Linked DNA regions of Homo sapiens: region 1 is linked to region 2. The links are contacts of gene promoters, found by promoter capture Hi-C in blood cells and fetal thymus (Javierre and others, 2016). All regions are on one chromosome and are shown on one strand. Each heading gives the region's core, a stretch centred on a gene start or on the middle of the fragment in contact. The rest is flanking DNA. Distances are from core to core; before and after follow the strand shown. Region 1 holds the start of GJD4 (gap junction protein delta 4). Region 2 holds the start of CUL2 (cullin 2).

The links. Contacts are between HindIII fragments. The CHiCAGO score rates a contact against its expected background, and 5 or more counts as called.
Region 1: the fragment with the promoter of GJD4 here is called in contact with the fragment with the promoter of CUL2 in region 2 in 1 of 17 cell types (total CD4 T cells); the score reaches 5.3 in total CD4 T cells.

Annotation. Positions count from the first base shown.
Region 1 is chr10:35,603,913-35,606,612 of GRCh38, forward strand. GJD4 (gap junction protein delta 4) reads left to right here and starts at 1,429. Exons shown (of 2, transcript NM_153368.3): 1 at 1,429-1,719. The coding sequence starts at 1,656. GJD4-AS1 (GJD4 antisense RNA 1) reads right to left here. Exons shown (of 2, transcript NR_199600.1): 2 at 650-2,053. The HindIII fragment of the contact is 9,701 bases long and covers 1-2,125 here.
Region 2 is chr10:35,088,769-35,091,729 of GRCh38, forward strand. CUL2 (cullin 2) reads right to left here and starts at 1,573. Exons shown (of 21, transcript NM_003591.4): 1 at 1,411-1,573. RefSeq lists silencers at 1,344-1,473, 1,494-1,693, 1,747-1,935 and an enhancer at 1,854-1,993. The HindIII fragment of the contact is 6,346 bases long and covers 1-1,909 here.

The DNA of each region.
Region 1 (2,700 bases), core at 179-2,678, 520 kb after region 2:
GGGTGAAGAACACATTCTTTTTTTCTGCTTCACTGATGAGAAAACCGAAGCATGAAAAGCTGCAGTGATTTGCTCATGGTCGCGCAGGGCTAATTTATTCCACATTTGGGATGGGCTATTTCTATCACACAGCAAGAGTCAGTAATTGCTTTCCTGATATTTCATTTTTTTTTTAAAGCCAATACCATGAGCAGTCTATTAGGAGACAAATTCTCCTTTATTTTATACTTACACCCTGTGACTATTTCAATATTTTTACTTAACTACAATTTCTCAAATTTCCTTGCTCATGTCGAAGCATTTGACTAAAATATAGCAAAACCACTGTTCCTTTCAAGGGGGTCAAAACGTTTTCCGTGGATGGGAGCATGTCATGTGAGCAAAGATGAAAGTAGCTTTGTTGCACTCTTCTGGGAATCTTTCTAGGGATATTACTAAAGTCAAGAATAGATCAGAAATGAAGAAAAGATGGGGATATAAAGAATAGCTTTCATGGAAAATTGAAATCATTCCTTTTAAAGTTTACAATTTCCACCCTGATCATAGATCCCCAACCCTGCAGGATGGGTTCTTCCCAGATATGAAGGTGGCTGCAGCGATAGGATTTTGACGCAACTGTGATTGATGTCAGCAGGTCCAGACCGTGATATTTCATGACAGATTTAACAGACATTTATTAAGTAGATTCAATGGGAACAGCTCCAGGCTAGATGGGGCTGGGAGATACAAAGGGAAGATGTAATCTGTGAAGGTCGTAGAGGCCAATTAGGGATTGAAATCCCACGGATATGGGTTGTCGTACACCCACTTCACACCAGTTGCTCTTATTCTACACCATCATTTCACATAAGCCTCCCACAAATGGCAAGTGGAATGGCATGATTCTCCTTATTGCAAGATGAGGCTATCTGGAAGGATCCAATGACTTCCCCAGTGAGTAGGGGGCTGCCCCGGGCTTTGCACCCAGGCTTTTGTCTCCAAGCGAAGAGTTGTCACTCACTGCACAGGAAGCAGCAGGAGAATAACCAAGTCACGGTCTAAAGTTGGGACACCCAACTGAGTTTCAGATTTCTGCCTGCACCAATGACACAGGAATTCAGAATAAGGGCGAGATCCTTGTGGGTTCGTGTGATGGTGGCATGGCGATTCATGCTTGATTGAGAAGACAAAACGTGAACACTTTAAGGGCTTCTTGCACAAGTGAAGTGGTTGTGGAAATGTTTTCAAGGAGGAAATGCCTTTTTAATAGAGAAATTTACTTGGCTAGTTAGCAGAAGTTTTCTTTCTTGGGTTAAAAGTAGTTGCTGCTATTATATCCTGAAGCATCTGGCTGTCCTGGTGGGGACATATGAGCGCTGCCACAGGCCGGGAATATCCCAGGCGAGTAAGAATAGCCCACAATAAGAGATGACTGCTGCTTGCTCTGCTGGTCACTGCAGTTGTCAGGAATGTTTCGCCTCAGAGGCAAACGGCTTAGGGCCGTCTCAACTTGGAGACAGAAAAACCCACCTCCTACTCCTGGCTCAGACCTTTGCTTTCTTATCTCCAGCTCACACCTTTAAGTCTTATGTAGTTAAAGGACATTTATCCGCCTCCTTGGAGAACACAGCCCTCCAGTGTCTCCTGCAGCCTGGAGCCTGGGACATTCTGGAAGCATGGAAGGCGTGGACTTGCTAGGGTTTCTCATCATCACATTAAACTGCAACGTGACCATGGTGGGTGAGTATTGGGACCATCTCCAAACTCCTGCGCTGTTTTTATTTCCACTGCCATGGTGGAATTGAGTCCTTAAAGGGTCCAGGTATTTACTCATTTTCAGTGTGCAAGCACCAAGCTGAAAGTCCACCCACTCCCAAAAGAAAGGGCTGTGCCTTTCTGGAGGGAAGAGAGCTGAGGCTTCTAGTTTCTTTGAATGGTTCCGCGGTTCCTCCGTCATGTAAGGGAGTCTTGCGTTTGACATTGTTCTCTCACAGATCATCCTGTGCTGACACTGGGGTGCTGACTCCAAAGACCAAAGCAGGTGGAGGGGTGTTTGTGTGCAACCCTGGTGTGGCTACGTTACCAGGAAAAGGAACAGAACAACAAATGTTAATCAGAAGGTGATACCTTTAGGTTTTATTCTGGAAGCTTGGTTTTTTTTTTTTGTTTTTGGAGACAGAGTCTCACTCTGTTGCCCAGGCTGGAGTGCAGTGATGCAATCTCAGCTCACTGCAACCTCTGCCTCCCGGGTTCAAGTGATTCTCCTGCCTCAGCCTCCCGAGTAGCTGGGACTACAGGCGCCTGCCACCACGCCCAGCTAATTTTCTGTGTTTTTAGTAGAGACGGGGTTTCACCGTGTTAGCCAGGATGGTCTCGATCTCCTGACCTCGTGAGCCACCCGCCTTGGCTTCCCAAAGTGCTGGGATTACAGGCGTGAGTTACCACGCCTGGCCTGGAAGCTTAATTTTTAAGGAGTAGCCATTTCTCTTGTGCACTTTAAACCAAATCCCAAGTTTAGTTATTTTTTTTAACAAAGAAAATAATAGATTTTTGTTTAATGCAGACGACTCACATTTTCAGAGAGGTATGGGGGTCAGAAAAGGATGAATATATGCCGGAGATGCAGTTGATACTTTTCTGGCTCATTATTTTGTAGATTTAGACAAAACCAACTTGATGTTAAAAGTTCAACTCAATGACTCATCACATAATGATATTATT
Region 2 (2,961 bases), core at 323-2,822:
ACATCCAAATACTCAAAAAGCAATTGAAAAGGAATTTTTCCCACGCTATGTGCATGCACATTGTAGAAATGTTCCCCCAACTCATAAACAGCAATTGAAAAAAACAAGTAATTCAAAACACTGTGGGCTGGGCGCAGTAGCTCAGGCCTGTAATCCCAGCACTTTGGGAGGCCTAAGCAGGCGAATCACCTGAGGTCAGGAGTTCAAGACCAGCCTGGCCAACATGGTGAAACCCCATCTCCACTAAAAATACAAAATTAGCCGGGCATGGTGGCGCATGCCAGTAATCCCAGCTACATGGAAGGCTAAGGCAGAAGAATTGCTTGAACCCGGGAGGCGGAGGTTGCAGTGAGCCGAGATCGCACCACTGCACTCCAGCCTGGGTGACAAGAGCAAAACTCCATCTCAAAACAAAAAAACTGTGTACTTCTCTTATCTCACGCGACTCTTTTGGAAGGATCTTCCAGATACTGTATAAGGGCAAAAGAAGCAAAGTATAGCTCATTTGTTCATGTGTCTGTCTTGAAAAGGAATGTAAGATTCTAAAGGGTAGGCAACAGTGTTTTGAATGTTTTTAAGCGATTATTATGTAGTCAGTTGTCAATCAGATCAAAGTGATTATTTCCGATACTTTACTACGAAGGTAGGCTTGGCCAGGTCTAGTTCAAAGACGTTTATGTTGAACAGTCACAATCTATAGCGAACGTTAATATTTTGCATCTTATCTTCAAAATTTAAACGCCCAGGGTACTGGCCTTCAACTGTTAATATTAATCCATGGGGCAAAGATGTGGACTTAACATTAATAACAGTCTGCAATTCACAGATGTTTTATTTGCATGCACGTAATGGTAGGGAATGGTCCAGACTCTCTAGAGGGTAAGCAAGTGCTAGAAAGCGTGTGAGGATCTTATTTCACCAGACCCTAAGGGTTGAGACAAGAAGTCTAGCATGCACGTAGGATACTCCTCCCCAAAGCTATCAATCTTTGCAGTCTGCGGAAACAAAAGTGAAAACACTCGGGGTAAGGATGCATGAGATGCCCCCCCCCACACACACACACAAACACACAGAGTTGTGTATTCGTGTGAGCACGTAAATATGTAGAAGAATACACGCACTCTCACCTTCCCTCCTTCGAAGGAAAATGGGGCCGCGGGAGAGGCGGCCAAGATCGGGTTGGGGAGGCCCGGGATCCAGTCCAGGGGGTGGCAGGGCTTACGGGTCAGCGCTCTGGGGAGCCGAGGTCACTTACAGGATACCATCTTCCCGGGCCTCCCCCTTTCATCCCTCTCCCCACACCTCGTCGCCCCCAACTCCTCTCCTCCGCCCCAGCCCCGCCACCCATTAACCGGGAAGGGAAGTTTCCCGGCGCCTGCAGCCCGGCTCCCCGACCCTCAGCGGGGTTACCTTCTGCAGAAGCAGGGCAAGGGGCAGGGGACAAGGGGAGGGGGAGGCAGCCCGAAGGAGTGAAAGACGAAGCCCCGGCGAGGAAGGTGGGCGGAGGCGGCGGCGGCGGCGGCTGTCAGCTCGCGTTCCCCTGCTCACAGCGCTGCCATTACTGTGCGCCGAGGCCGCCTCCCCGGCCGGCCGCCGCCACCGGCCCCGGAGACGCGGGGGGTGGGGAGCGAAGCCCGGGGAGCCCGCGCGCCGACACTCACCTGTCTCCGCGAGGAAAGACAGCAAAGTCCAAGGCCGCCGCCGCTCCCCGGCGGGACAGGGGCGGTAGGGAGGGGGGGAAAGGGGAGAAGGACGGGCCGATCACGGGATCCGTAAAACAATCGTCCTCCTCTGCCTCCGGCTTTGCCCAACACACACCCTCCGGTCTCCTTCTTCCGCTGCTGCCAAATCCCCCCCGCCACCCGGAAAGCAATGGTACAGGCCGCGTTACGGCAAGCGCAGGGAGCCAAGCTTCGTGTGATTGCGAAAGGCCACGGAAATTAATATTCCAAGTGATTCCTTGCTGGGCTTGCTGTCAATGAGGCAATTGCGGTTCGCTGAGCTGATGGACACAGTACCCACCCACTACCCGTTAGTTCAGGGACTGCTAATAACAATATGTTGGAATGGTGCTTTCAACAGAAGTATGTTTTCCTTGTTTCAGACCTATGTGAATATCCTAAGACACCACAATCCTCTTGCCACACACTTCCATGGGCTTTGCAAATGATCAAAAATAAATTAGCAAAACTACTTTTCCTCTCTGACAAACTCTTTTTCTTGTTAGTTTTTATCTACAGAGAATTTCTTGGACATACATGTATTTTCGATAAAGAAACTTCACATCTTTTTCACTAATACCCCACCTTCACCAAGCCCCAAGCCTATCAGTTTGAAGGGTTTTCCTCCCTTGGAGTTTTAAACGGTAAAGCTGATAAAAATATAGAATTACTCATCACCTCCTCATATATGCAGGGCCACAGAGGAACAAAAGCCCGGCCTTAGTGCTTTTTGCCTTTCATATCCTCAAGAGCTCACCATCAGGGTCTTGTTCATTTATACGATTCAGCAAGCTTTTCCCTCCCATCCCTTCCTTCCAAACTGCACGAACCCTTCAAGGCCCATTTAAAACCCTGCCTCCAGACCTGATCAGTCCCTAGAGCCTTCCTCCTCTTCTAATCTGCTTCTCTTGGTACTTGAAGTCTCTACTCTTTATTTCAGTAAAGGGTTTTTATATACGAAATTCAATCCAACAGTATGTTTCCATTATGTGACCTTTTTTTCCTCCCATGTTTTCCCCCTTTTAATCTAGTGATTCTCAAAGTGTGGTCCCCAGACCTCTGGAAATCCCTGAGACCTTTACAGAGGTCATAAGGTTAACAACTAGTTTGTTAACAATGCAATATGTCTGGTCCTTTTTTTTTTTGGATACAGAGTCTTGCTCTGTCACCCAGGCTGGAATGCAGTGGCGGCACAATCTCAGCTCACTGCAACCTGCACCTCCCGGGTTCAAGTGATTCT